Regions from separate parts of the Homo sapiens genome. Here regions 2, 3 and 4 are each linked to region 1. Evidence: promoter capture Hi-C in 16 types of primary human blood cells and fetal thymus (Javierre and others, 2016). All regions are on one chromosome and are shown on one strand. Each heading gives the region's core, a stretch centred on a gene start or on the middle of the fragment in contact. The rest is flanking DNA. Distances are from core to core; before and after follow the strand shown. Region 1 holds the start of LINC01827 (long intergenic non-protein coding RNA 1827). Region 2 overlaps HECW2 (HECT, C2 and WW domain containing E3 ubiquitin protein ligase 2). Region 3 overlaps HECW2 (HECT, C2 and WW domain containing E3 ubiquitin protein ligase 2). Region 4 overlaps STK17B (serine/threonine kinase 17b).

Region 1 (3,426 bases), core at 467-2,966:
AGCTCAGGAGTTAGAGACCAACCTGGGCAACATAGGGAGACCCTATATCTACAAAACATCAAAAAAATTAGCCGGGTATGGTGGCCCCCTCCTGTGGTCCCAACTTCTTGGGAGGCTGAGGTGGGAGGACCACTTGAGCCCAGGAGATCGAAACTGCACTGAGCCATGATCCCGCCATTGCCCGTCAGCCTGGATGACAGAGCGAAACCCAGTCTCAAAAACAAAAAAAAAAAAACAAACAAAACTCCAGCAACTGTCTCCTTTATTGTCCATTAATGGTTCACATGCCTACTCTGAATCAGTCACATGGACAGAATGATGTAATAATGCTGATTAGTGTAAGACAAACAGGTTCTCTGGAGGTGGGCAATCCAGCCCAAGCCATGCTCAAAAACATACTGTTTGTTTAAAGTAGAAAAGGCTCTGGATGGTGAGAAGGGATTTTACAAATGTCAGTGTAAGCTCTTGCTACTGCTTCTCTCTGCATGTCTATTCTAGGTTGCTCTTGTAGGCTGGCTCCACATGTAAGGATTTTACTTTGGGTTCCCTCATAATTTAATGTTCATGTAGCTGAAGCTTGCCATAGAGGTCTCACACTAAATACCTGTGACCCGACAACTCCAATTCTCATCACTTAACTATGACTTTTGTGTCTCAGTGAAATTTTTTCAAACAATATCATCTAGTTGGCTTGGCCTAACCTATGGATCGACTCTCAGAGTAGGTCTCCCCACCCTGGTCCAATCATCATAACCAGGGAGTAGGGTCATATGATATAAACATAGATGACTAGGCCCATCTGTTCAGCAGGGGAACAGATTCTTTTAGAAGGGAATGTGGGCAGAAAGGCAATTATATACATCTCTAACCAGAAAAATCCCAGGGGTGGAAATGATAGGAAGAAATGGCACCAAATTTAAAGATAAAAGAAAAGCTGCCACTGTAATTCAAAATTAGACAATGTAACTGATCATAGACTTTTGCTATAATCGCTATTTTGGCCTTATAATCTCTGAAATTTACTTTACAGAACAGTGAAACACTTCTTTGAGGAGAAACATTATAGAAGAAAACAATCTTTGATCTAGAAACCTAAAAAGATATTTATGCTCATTATATTCCAGGTGCTGAAGAGTGTCAAAGCACAGCTAAATATTATGCCATTTGTGCAGACTCGGAATGAGTTTAAGCACTGAAAGAGCTACCAGAATACCCCAGCAGAACATCTCAAAACAAAGCATTATTTCTCTCTTAAGAAAATTACCAGGCTGGGCACGGTGGCTCACACCTGTAATCTCAGCACTTTGGGAGGACGAGGCAGGCGGATCTACCTGAGGTGAGGGGTTCGAGACCAGCCTGCCCAATGCGGTGAAACCCCGTCTCTACTAAAACTAAAAAAAATAGCTGGGTGTGGTGGCGGGCACCTGTAATCCCAGCTACTCAGGAGGCTGAAGCAGGGAGAATTGCAGTGAGCCGGATTGCACCACTGCACTCCAGCCTGGGCGACAGAGTGAGACTCCATCTCAAAAAAAAAAAGGGAAAATTACCTATTTGCACTTCTTGATTTCCAGGAAGGTGTTAGAGATCTTCATCCCATCCCCAGCCCAAGTCTAGACGTGTTCACCGGAAAGGAAGAAGTTTTTGAGTTCTCAGCAGTAGCTGTGGCTCTAAGGAAAGCAGTGTTGTATGGGTATTAGAGTAGTACAACCAAAGCTCTGCTGGAACAAAAGAGGAACACAGAAAGCTAGGAATGACAAGTGTTTTTCTTCCCTCTCATATGATTCAGTCAGGCTGTCTTTGACCTACATAGCCATCTGACTGGCCACTGTTTTCTTTTCTTTCTTTTCTTTTTTTAGAGATGGGATCTTGCTGTGTTGCCCAGGCTGGACTGAAACTCCTGGGTTCCAGTGATGCTCTCTCCTGAGCTTCCCGAGCAGCTGGGACCACAGGCATACACCACTGCACTGCACTGCACTTGATTAGGTATATTTTAAAATGTAAAATAATAGTGAAAGGATTCTCCCTAGTCCCCATAAACCTGGGAATGGATCGAGGTGAGGACACCAAAACTTTCCCCTGAGACATGGAAATTGCACTGAATGTTTCTTGATGGTTCTAATGCATTAAGAATTAAGAGCTCTTTGCCTAGATTACCCCCAAAATATTAAAAATAACAAAACAAAGTAGAACTAAGGAAAAATATAAGACACATAGAGAAAATGTTTTTCAAAAAATGTTATTTGACCTATGGCTAATTCTGATTTTAAAAGCAGTTAAACAAACGAAACACAACCTAGTGATGCTTACGACTGAAGAAACCATTGATACCTGAAAGAAGGGAAGACTTTAGATATAAAGGCAGAGTGGAATTTTTTTAACCAACATTTCATGCAGCAGCTCCACATGGCCTTCCCATGTCTCAATAGCTTTGATTTGTGGAAATAATGGTTATGCAATTTCCACATATTGTGCTCCAATCACAGCATGTAAGCAACAATAAAAAGAAAACAACTAAATGTACTTGAAGCTGGAGATTTTGATAAGGTTTTCTTTTCACTTCACAAAGTTTGTTAACTGGATATTTTTCTAAGGCAACTGAAATATTCCTGCTGAGTTTCAGACAGATATATGTAAAAGCAGCAAAGTGTCTGATTTTCTTAAATGTATCTATGGCAGCAACACTAGTTAATTTAGTTGTGAAAAAATAACCAAAAAGAAACTATCGGACTATAAGAATTCCACAGTTGGCAGACTGTTGGTATTTCTCTTTCTCTTTAAATATATATATAAATATATCTATAAATATATATAAATATCTATAAATATATCTATAAATATATATATTAAATATATATATGCCATCTGTTTACAAAAGATGAGAAATGTTGGAGAAAATTATTTCCCTTAGGGTATAATGTTATGGCCATTCAGAGAGAGGTCTCTGGTATTTTCAAGGAGAATTTGGTACAAGAACAAGACAGCATCAGGTCTGCACAGTCATTGGCTGCAAAAAACAAAGATGATTTCCTTTAGTCCCTGTTTTAGTTTTACTCTTTGAACTTCCAAGTTTATTTATTGTTATTATTTTTAATGTGGCACAGATTGTTTTAAGAATCAACTTGGTTCCCTTTTTTGAAGTCCTTTTTTTTTTTTAATTTGTTGAGACTGGTTTCTAAAGTGCTCCACCTCCACCACCTGTCATTAGATGGGGGGCTGCGGCTTGGAGAACACTCACAGTTCTGAGTTCAGCTGTGGACGGAATAATGAAGGGCAGCTGCAGAAGGAGGTAGAGCTGCAGATTCAGAGGTAGGTGGCAATACAGTATTTCAAAATAAAAACTACCAAGCTTCAGATCGGTGATAAATTGTCATGCACTAAGTGTACCTGGAGAAATAAAACTAATCTCTATCCATTTTAATTCTCTCA
Region 2 (3,426 bases), core at 629-3,128, 640 kb after region 1:
ATTTCTATCCCAACTTTTCAGATATGGATACAGAGATATGAAAGTCTGGATTATGATTTTGGAATTTCTTGTCTGGAGTGGTCCAAAGTTATCCCTAAAGATTTCAAATTCACTAAAAACAATATTTATGGAGTACATGTGCTAAGCACTGGGCTCACTGCTAGGAGCAAAGCCATGTTTAATTCAGATAAGGTACTTGTTCTCACAGGATTATACTCCAGAGGAGGAGACAGATAATCAACAAGTAAACCAATAACTGAACATGATGACTGAATTGGGTCAAGCCTAGTGAAGGAAGTAAGGGGTGAAAGAGTGACAGGTGCACTAAGGACAGAAGCCTGGTGGGCCTTTCTCAGGAGATCACCTCTAACCCGAGTCTTGGGGACAAGAAAGAGCCAGGCATGAAGGACCAGCAGATAAGTGTTATAGGCAGCAATTCCCTGAGCCTTGAAGCATAATTGAGTTTGGCATATTTGAGGAATACACAGAAGGAGGCTGGTAGGTGTCATGGGTTGGGGGAGAGGGTACATGTTGAGGTTGCAGGAGGAGGCAGACCAGGGCCCCACAGGAAGTCCTTGGGAAGGAGTCTGGATTTTATTCTAAGCCACCAGAGGGTGTAGGCAAGGGAGGGAGGTGACCTTGAGATGTTTGCAGATCCCAGTGGTTGTTGAGTGCAGAATGAATGAATGGTGGGATGCAGGAGAAGCAGGGGATTTAGCCAGCAGTCTACTGCAGTAGTCCAGGTGAGGGGGGATGGTGTCATGGACTAGGCTGGTGGAAAGAAATGAGCCCAAACTGGTTTTTGCTCTTGAGGCCAAGGAAAAGTGGGTAAGCATTCTTTAACTGTTGCAATGTCTGTCACTCACAAATAGACACTTTAAAATCTGACTTGTGAAATAGCTCTCAAGGACCTTTAGTAGATTTGACTTGGACTATCCTGTCCTCTGTTGTCAGCAGCAACAATGCTGATGGAATGCAAGTGGAATGATTATCTCATTCCATTAAAGTCACAAATTCTTTCAATAGCTTGACGTTTTACATTAATTACAGAAGAGTCCCTTTTTTTAATACAATCTGTTTTTATGATAAATTTACCCACCTCCCAAAGTAAAGACCAATCCAAAAGGTATATGACATTTAAGAATCTTTAATATGGTGATGTGATGGGTTAACTCTGGCATGTTTTTGTTAGTACATGCAGATTCAATGGCAGAATAAAGTGAAAATTTAAAATACAGTTATATAGAACTGAGTGAGAGGGCAGAGGGGAAAGGAGTTGAAGAGAGTCTTGGACCTGAGGTTCAACTACAGAGCAGACCACTGTATGAGAATCTCCTGTCAATTCTCTCCCACACGAAAAGCCACATCAGCTCATCAGCAGGCGGTAGGGAATTAGGAAGACCAACGAGGGACACCTCAGGGCAAATATAGAAAGGAGATGGCCCCAAAGGGTCCTTCTAGTACTCATCTCTTGTTCTGATGGTTTTTCTTTCTTTCTTTCTTTTTTTTTTTTTTTTGAGACGGAGTCTGGCTCTGTCGCCCAGGCTGGAGCGCAGTGGTGCGATCTCGGCTCACTGCAAGCTCCGCCTCCCGGGCTCCCGCCATTCTCCTGCCTCTGCCTCCCGAGTAGATGGGGCTACAGGCGCCCACCACCACGCCCGGCCAACTTTTTGTATTTTTAGTAGAGACGGGGTTTCACCATGTTAGCCAGGATGGTCTCCATCTCCTGACCTCGTGATCTGCCCACCTTGGCCTCCCAAAGTGCTGGGATTACAGGCGTGAGCCACTGTGCCCAGCCTGGTTTTTCTTTTAATTGAGGAAAGTGACATTGTATTTCAGGACTTGGTTATTTTCCGGTATACTGGCTGATAATTCACTTTGACAGTAGACAATGCTCCCTATAATGGAGGAGGGAAAACTGAATTATTGATAACATTACAGAGCAATATTTAATGACATGGAAAGATGTTCCATGTGATAAACGGAATGTTGTTTTAAAATGTGTGTGTGTGTGTATGTGTGTGTCTGTGTGCCTGTGTGTACCTGAAGAAATGAGTGAAATCACATACTCTAACATGTTAACAGAGCTTATCTTAGTAATTGACTTTTTTTTCCTTCAGAAATGGTATCTCTCTATGTTGCTCAGGTTTGACTCAAACTCCCATGCTCAAGCCTTAGCCTCCCAAGTACCTGGGACTCCAAGCATGCACCACCATGACCAGCTAGTAGTGGACATTGGGTGGACATTGGATTGATACATATGTAGGTATTTTAATATATATTTAATATATACATATATTTCTTAGCAATTTTTTGTAAAATTTTCTTTTTATAAATTAGAATAAAAAGCAGATTTTTTTTTCTTTTGAGATGGAGTCTCACTCTGTCACCCAGGCTGGAGTGCAGTGGCATGATCTTGGCTCACTGCAACCTCCACCTCCTGGGTTCAAGTGATTCTTCTGCCTCAGCCTCCCGAGTAGCTGGGATTACAGGTGCACACCACCATGCCTGGCTAATTTTTGTATTTTTTTTTTTTTAAGTAGAGATGGGGGTTTCACCATATTGGCCAGGGTGGTCTCAAACTCCTGACCTCAAGTGATCTGCCTGCCTTGGACTCCCAAAGTGCTGGGATTTCAGGTGTGAGCCACTGCACTCTGCCAAAAAGCAGAATTTTAAAAACAAAAAGTTGTTATGTTTTTAAAAAATAATTTTATCTTTTAAAGTTCTATTCCATTAGATTAACTGTCTCCATAAGACATCTATTTCATAATTAACTCTTACAATTTATTTCTTAATTTCAGTTAGCATTTCATTCATAATAATCTCCAGACACAGCCATTTTCAAAAATTAACGCTTTTCCCTTTGGCAATAACCAACACACCCCCATGACGATTGCAGCTCTCAGGTCCTCCGTCCCATCACCCAACTTGGCAAGAACCTGGGGGATGAACACAGAAACTCACACCATGGTGGGAGACAGGACTGCTCTGCAGTTTTCAGGCTGGCATCTTAGCAGCGCATTTTTTGGACTGTTTGAGAGCAATTGCCACAAAGTGAATGTACTCTCTTTTCATAAAGTCCATCAGAGCACCAGGGGTATGAAGTCTTCCACAGAAATGCAAAATACAGAGCTAACCACCGACCGCGAAGCAGAGGAAGTGCAGTCATGTGCTCAGGCTGTAGGTCTCCATGGAGACACCCTTCTGTCTACATCCTTATTTATCATCTGGGTCTCTAGTCACTTCATAACCACAAGAGGAAAAAAGAGCCATGGATTCAACTTGCACTGGCTGCAGAGACAACCATATATACTTTTATATACTCCTTGACTCATACTGTGAGCAGCGCTATCCACTGCTACCGCAAAGTGAGACTAGGAAATCTGAGAAAAGAATGAGACTCACATTTGCCTGCTTGAAAATTGA
Region 3 (3,426 bases), core at 512-3,011, 620 kb after region 1:
GAAAATATATATTGTTCCAATAATTTACACTTTTCTAGCTTTTCTTTTCTTTCTTTCTTTTTGTTTTTTTTGAGATGGAGTTTTGCTCTTTGTTGCCCAGGCTGGAGTGCAATGGTGCCATCTCGGCTCACTGCAACCTGCGCCTCCCCAGTTCAAGTGATTCTCCTGCCTCAGCCTCCCCAGTAGCTGGGATTACGGGCGCCGGCCAACACACTCAGTCAATTTTTGTATTTTTAGTAGAGATGGGGTTTCACTATGTTGGCCAGACTGGTCTCGAACTCCTGACCTCAGGCGATCCACCTGCCTCGGCCTCCCGAAGTGCTGGGATTACAGGCCTGAGCCACTGCTCCTGGCCCCTAGCTTTTCCTTTCTAAGTGAAACACCAGTGATTAAACATCTTTTGGAAGCATCTATCCATACAAGGATTTGAAAATAATAGGACAAATAAAGTGTGTGAAACTCATGTGTATCAAGGTAAACATTATATCTTTATCAGATGTTCTCATTTCTTTATTCTTGCGATTCCAAAGTTAACTTTGGCTGACAAATGAGGTATCTATTTAGAAGGGGAAAAAAAGTAGTTAATGGGTCAACATTTTTGAGCAAGAAAAGGAGGAGAAAAGTATGAAGAGACTTCAACTTCATACTTAAACTTTACTTCATACTTAAACCAGAATGTCTTTAACTGGTTTAAGTATGAAATAAAGAACAGTATGAAAGACTTCCTGGGATGGTGGATAGTGGGAATTATTCATTATTATTTGTTACTAAACTCTCACTAATTAAATGGGGTTCAGGATTAAAGGAAATTACGAAGGCAGATATATTTATCATTCTAAAAACACACTGAGGTCCAAGGATACAGAGGGATGTCATGGCACAAAAGCCAGAAGTCAGTGCTGTGAATCAGTATCTTGCTCTTCCCCCTCTTCCCCCTTCAATAACAATGTCAGACTTCAGTCGGTGATAGGAGATGAATCTTCTGCTTAAATGCTGTCATGTGATATATGAAGTTCATTTCTAGTGTAAAATATGTAATAAGAAGCTTAATGGCACACGTATTCCATGAAATCTTGACAGGGTTGCTCTTAACTCATATGAATTAACACAAGTTGGTTTTCACGAGTTAATTCATATAAATTAACATGAGTTGCTAAATACAGATCATTTTAAGGGCACCCCTTAGTGATTGACTGCCCTCATAGTGTGTAGAGATATATATATATACACACACACACACACACATATATATATGGCGCTATATATATATTCCCCATCTCTTTTTATTAACTGCCGTGTTTTAGTAACATTTTACTTATCTGGCCAATTTACACCACTAGTCAACTAAATATAAAAGATAATGTTATCCATTAAAACAAGGGTTCCAAACTGGTGACCTGCAGGGCAAATCAATGTGTAGCTATATTTGGTTTGATCCACCCACTACTAAAAAGATCTGGAAATATCACACAAAAATTTGGGTTTCTGGGTTTCCCTTGATATATTAGATCTTTTAACACTAGACTGGAATTTCATGTGGCTAGGATCTGCTGGAGCAAAATATTAGAATGTCCCTTTATGTAAGCCCTACCACTGTGTGTTGCTTCCACCTAGCCAATTTCACTCGTTAAATACCTATCTGGTCCCTGTAGGCATATGCACACGCGACCCCTAGATTAAATTGATGTGCGTGGTAGTGGTGGCGGCGGCAGTGGTGTGCCTATGTGTTTATAAATTAAACATTCAAATAAGATGGCTTAACAAATAGTCTCAACCCATGTGAGTTAAGAAATTATGATTTGTATTATAATTCATTCCTTTAACATTAACAGCCCATCAAACAGTAAAATATTCTTGTAGGGATAAACAAAGTAGATTCCAAACAAAATAAACAAATATTTTATTAATAAATAATAAAAATATAAATAAAAATAAACAAAATACTATAAATACTATGAAAACAGAACCTCCAATATTTATAGAGCTGCAAACTAATGCCATGAAATCTTTATCTCTACTTCTATTCTCCTCCCTTCTGAGTTTTCCCTCCCCAAAAGTATTACAGAAAAGTCATAATCTATTTTTTTTAAAGAAGATTTATTTTGGATTAAGTGATTTCATGATGCAACATGGTTTTAAACAAAAATAGAGATCAGTATGAAAATAAAACAAATTGTACACATTAAAATATCTTTCCCTCAAAGCATTTCGGAATCATAAAAAATACAACAAAAGAGTCAGGGGTTCAGTTGAGAATAAGAATACAGACTTCCCAGAAAATAAACAACTAGTCCCAGTTCAGAGTCCTAGGCCCCATATAATACCACCCAGAAACCATTTCTAGGATGTCAACAATCTGCATTATTTACTTTGAAAAAAAAATTACATATAAGGTGAAGTGAGAGCTGTATAACCTTAATGCTAACAGCAAGCATCTCCCATTATTATTCTCCATCAAAAGTCACATTAAATAAATATGAAGCTTAAATCAACGCAAAAACTGAAATACCACTATTAACTGTGACACACTGTGTGGTGAACGTAATGACTGAGGTTGGTGAAGAGAAATTAAAAGCTTAAAAAAATACACCACCTGTGTTCTACTGAAATCTTAGAAATAATTTTTTTACAGAGCCTTAATATTAAAAAGTAATCATTACTATAAAATTAGATTAATACTTTCAGTAAGAGGCGAGAGAGATGCATGTATTTTTATTCATTTATTTTGGAATGCCTGCATCCCTATTATAAAAACATGTAATTTTAAGCACTTTCCAACATATTAACAGCCCCAAATTTTACTTATGCTATCATATAAAGAAAAATAGGTTGTAATTTTATCTTTTAGAGCATTAGGGTCCTAAAAGAACATCCCATTCTGTGTTAATTCCTGGTTAATCCTTCCAAGGTAATTCCTGAACATCATCCATTCTTTTTTATGAAGGTGATAGTAACCAGAAGTTGACTGATGGTTCCTTACCTGCATCAGTAATAGCTGATTCAGTTTGAATCACACAACACGGCTATCCACACTCCTCAGGTTGTAATATCTTAAAAGTCATATAGAAAGATATCACCTGCCCAAGGGCACTACACATAAAAATCACATATATAAATTTAATTCTCCTGTGTTCCCCAGAAACCATACAACTAGGGCCATCTTATTCTGCTGAGCTGTTCAATTACGAAAGCCAAATAAACGACTCTGCAGATAAAATCTAAGCAAATCTATTTCCGGTCTTGATTAACTTCCTGACTTGGAAACACTAATTTAGTCTCCATTTGCAACCTCACTCTTAGGATTTCACTTTCCAGATTAACAGAGAGCATTTAAGTTATCTTTAGAAATCATGAAAATGTCTCAAATGCTATTCTAATGTCAAGGGATGTCCGCTAAAAAAACCAAATAAGTATAATGAAATAAAA
Region 4 (3,426 bases), core at 319-2,818, 590 kb after region 1:
GCACCCTCCTGTAGTAACCCGCTAAGCATTTGTTCCTCCTCTGACATCTTTTTTTCCTATTTTCTACTTATATGTACTGTTCTTTATCTTCTTAAATTCAAATGCCAACTATAGTCTACTTAGCCAAAAAGCAGTGTCATTAGAGTTCAGCGTTTTCAGTTTCTACATTTTCTCTTCTTGGTGTTATTCTCAAATTATGAACGCGTCACTGCAGTTCAGCCTGGGCGATAGATGGAGACCTTGTCTCAAAAAATTAAATTAAAATTATAGCTTTCACATAACTAGATAGTAAAATTGTTTTCTCTACATCTCTTAGTCTTTGGGGAAACAGCTCTAACTAGTTTTGGGGTACATCTCTAGGAGTCAAAGGGTTGTAGTGTAGCATTCTGAGAATAACCTTTAGACTGAAAGACACCTGGGTCTGAATTCCATTCATCCATCATACCAGCTATGAGACCTTAATTAAATTATTTAACTTTGCTATTGTTATGGGCTGAATTGTGTCCTCCCCCAAATTCCTAAGTTGAAAAACCCTAACCCCTGTATCTCATAATGTGACTGTCTTTGGAGACAGGGCCTTTAAAAAGGTGATTAAGTTAAAATGAGGTCATTAAAGTGGGCCAATTAGGACACAGACACACACAGAGGAAAGACTATGTGAACACACTAGGAGAAGGCAGCCATCTACAAGCCAAGAGGGCAGGCCTCAGAAGAAACCAACCCCGCAGACACCCTGATCCCAGATTTCTAGCCTCCAGAATCGTTGAGAAAATATACTTCTGTTAAGTCGCCTGATCTGCGGCAACACAGTTATTTAAAAAGAAAACAAAATATATAATATTTCAAATGTAAGATAAGGAACACTATATACAAACATTTACTTTCCAATCTTATTACTTGGTCATATTTCATTTAAATTAAAAATAAAACATATTAGACATAGCCCCTTCTTTCCACCCCCAGTTTACACTCCCACTAGCACTGGATGGGACGGTTTATCACTACTTTGACAATACTTGCCCAATTCAGACTTTTAAGTTTGGCTATTCTAGTGTGATGAAGGTGAAATGGAATTTTGTTGTGATTTACTTCGCATTCCCTTTTACTGGTGAAGAAAGCTTCGATTTTGCTGCCTCTAAAGTATGGATGATAAAAGAATTGATCTTCCAGTGCTGCAAGGATTAAAAATTAAAATATGCTGAACTCATGTCCACTGACACAGGTACAGTGCAAGTCACAAGGGCATATCGCTATTGTTCCACAAAACAAAATTAACATTCTACCCAAAAATACTCTCCCTGCAGTTCCCTGCCATTGTTGAACAGCTGTACTGTTTCCATGTACAAAATTCTCATCCCAACTTAGTCTAAACTTCATTCTTAAAAGTATTTTTGTTTTCTGTTTTAACTACTTATGTATCTTCTTAGTTCTGATAGCGCTCAGTTTCACTGATTTTTTTCCATTGTTCTGAAAGATCAATATGGGTACCAATTTCCTCATAAGTTCATCTATTTATTAAAAATATACCTACATCACAAGCTGCTTTAGGCATCCATTAAGCATTTCTTAAGTTCATTTTCCTTTTATTTACTGCATCTGAACCAATTGTCAGAGCCAAGATATTTTTCCATTTCCTCTCCTTTGGCCAGTTTTGCATATAGTGGAGCATGAATGTCACCTTTGTCCACCAAGCCCTCCTCAAACATCTGGTTGCCCTTCATATAAGGTACATGCAGGTTATGAGTCAGCTCTCTGTCGCTCCTTCTTGTATCTTCCTAAATTTCCCACCAAATTCTCTTTAACTCCAACAATTCCCAGGCCTTTTCTTGTCTTCTACCACACTTCATATTACCGATTCTAAATTACCTATATGTCTCACTCCATTTGAAATTCATTTCATAACATTTTATCAGGTTATAGCATTTAAAAAAAATCTTAAGGGACCTGGTAAGTAAATTTATATGCATGTGTATACACGATTAGATCCTATAAAAAGTGTAATAGAAGGTAAGACACAATTAAGCTTTTAATCACACAGTACTACTACAAATAATGGTATCTCACTTATTTTTAAAGATTTTTTTCATTAATTCTCATTATAATAATTACCAAAAGAATTTGGAAGTAGATCAGTGAAGGAAGGAAAAGAAGGAAATGTTAGGCTTGATCTGGGCCTTCACTTACTTGAATGCAGAAAGCAAGTGTGATGTGAACAAAAGCAAGACTATCTCTATAAACCTCTAGCTCTATTTTAAAAAGTATTTATCATGATATTTATTTCAAAATTATCAAATAAGAAAGTTTTTAAAAAATAGAATATACAATAATAAAGACATTTAGAAAATCAAATTGTCTGTTTTGATTCCTTCATTAGCTCCCCAGTATCTACAAGCTTTCAAGTACTTACAGCATGACACATAAAGGCCTCTGAGGCCAAGTATACACCAGCTACATTTCCTGCCGCACTCATATTTCATATTTTGCCACCACATCTTTGTTATACTTCTTTGCCTGAAAAAGCCTTTCTACTTTCCTTAAATGGCTAACTCTTCTTACACATCCTTCAAAACTCAACACAGAATGGCCTCTCCCCCAGGAAGCTTTGCCTAAAAACCACAGGCTGATTTAAAGGCTTCTCCTTTATGCTTCAAATAAGAGGATCCTTGGCATACTTCTTTACCTCAAAATGTAACATGTTAGATTGCAATTCTGTTCAGTGTTTAAAGGGCAGCATCCTTTTACTTTTGTGCCTAAGCAACCAGCATGGTATCTGCCACCCGGTAGGAATTTTAAAAATGTTTGATGAACTGAATTGTAAGAATTATGAGATATAGAAAAAAGAATTTGTAGGTATATCTCATGTCTTCGAGGGGTTAGGAGAACTTGAGATCCATCTTGAATTTACAGTACTGGAGCTCTGAATGCAGCTAGTCTCTGCTTAATTCAGCATTTGGACAAATAAAGTAACTATTTTAAATTGCACTTACAAAATGTCAGTTCTAAACAGGTAGCCACAAAGTCTGGAAACACAGATAAAATTATTTTGTCATATACTATAATGTAATGCCAATAGACCTTTTGTTTTTACCACTGTTTCCAGACAAGGTGGCTACTTGTTTTTAATATAAGCTACTAATACAAATACCTACTGCAGTTAAGAACATCACTCTTTTAAGAGCCTCCAAAAATCAGGAGATTCAGGTAAGTGTCCTATCAAGATTTATCACTGATAAGTCTAGATCATCATGAAGTACATTGGAAAGGCAACAGGAAGCAAAGTAAGCCCGAAGATTCTAAGGGAAGCAACTCCTTTCTACATAGGCATTTAAGGCATTTACTGCTAGCAAGCTTTCCCTAGGAAACTGAAAAAGAGATTTAACGTCCATCAAAAGTAAAGGAAGAACTTTCTCCTGGTGTGGCAGAAGT

The links. Contacts are between HindIII fragments. The CHiCAGO score rates a contact against its expected background, and 5 or more counts as called.
Region 2: a contact is called between a fragment that was not itself captured here and the fragment with the promoter of LINC01827 in region 1, in 1 of 17 cell types (non-activated CD4 T cells). The highest score is 5.8, in non-activated CD4 T cells.
Region 3: a fragment that was not itself captured here is called in contact with the fragment with the promoter of LINC01827 in region 1 in 1 of 17 cell types (non-activated CD4 T cells); the score reaches 5.6 in non-activated CD4 T cells.
Region 4: a fragment that was not itself captured here is called in contact with the fragment with the promoter of LINC01827 in region 1 in 2 of 17 cell types (non-activated CD4 T cells and M2 macrophages); the score reaches 6.1 in non-activated CD4 T cells.

The regions. Positions count from the first base shown.
Region 1 is chr2:195,572,777-195,576,202 of GRCh38, forward strand. LINC01827 (long intergenic non-protein coding RNA 1827) reads right to left here and starts at 1,717. Exons shown (of 2, transcript NR_187191.1): 1 at 1,548-1,717. The HindIII fragment of the contact is 2,770 bases long and covers 575-3,344 here.
Region 2 is chr2:196,208,265-196,211,690 of GRCh38, forward strand. All of the region lies in intron 28 of HECW2 (HECT, C2 and WW domain containing E3 ubiquitin protein ligase 2), which reads right to left. Among named protein-coding and RNA genes, the nearest start is that of STK17B, 38 kb to the left of the region's middle. The HindIII fragment of the contact is 9,346 bases long and covers 1-3,426 here.
Region 3 is chr2:196,192,292-196,195,717 of GRCh38, forward strand. It overlaps HECW2 (HECT, C2 and WW domain containing E3 ubiquitin protein ligase 2), which reads right to left. Exons shown (of 29, transcript NM_001348768.2): 29 at 1,781-3,426. Among named protein-coding and RNA genes, the nearest start is that of STK17B, 22 kb to the left of the region's middle. The HindIII fragment of the contact is 1,437 bases long and covers 1,044-2,480 here.
Region 4 is chr2:196,164,563-196,167,988 of GRCh38, forward strand. All of the region lies in intron 1 of STK17B (serine/threonine kinase 17b), which reads right to left. Among named protein-coding and RNA genes, the nearest start is that of STK17B, 5.3 kb to the right of the region's middle. RefSeq lists an enhancer at 2,599-2,668. The HindIII fragment of the contact is 905 bases long and covers 1,117-2,021 here.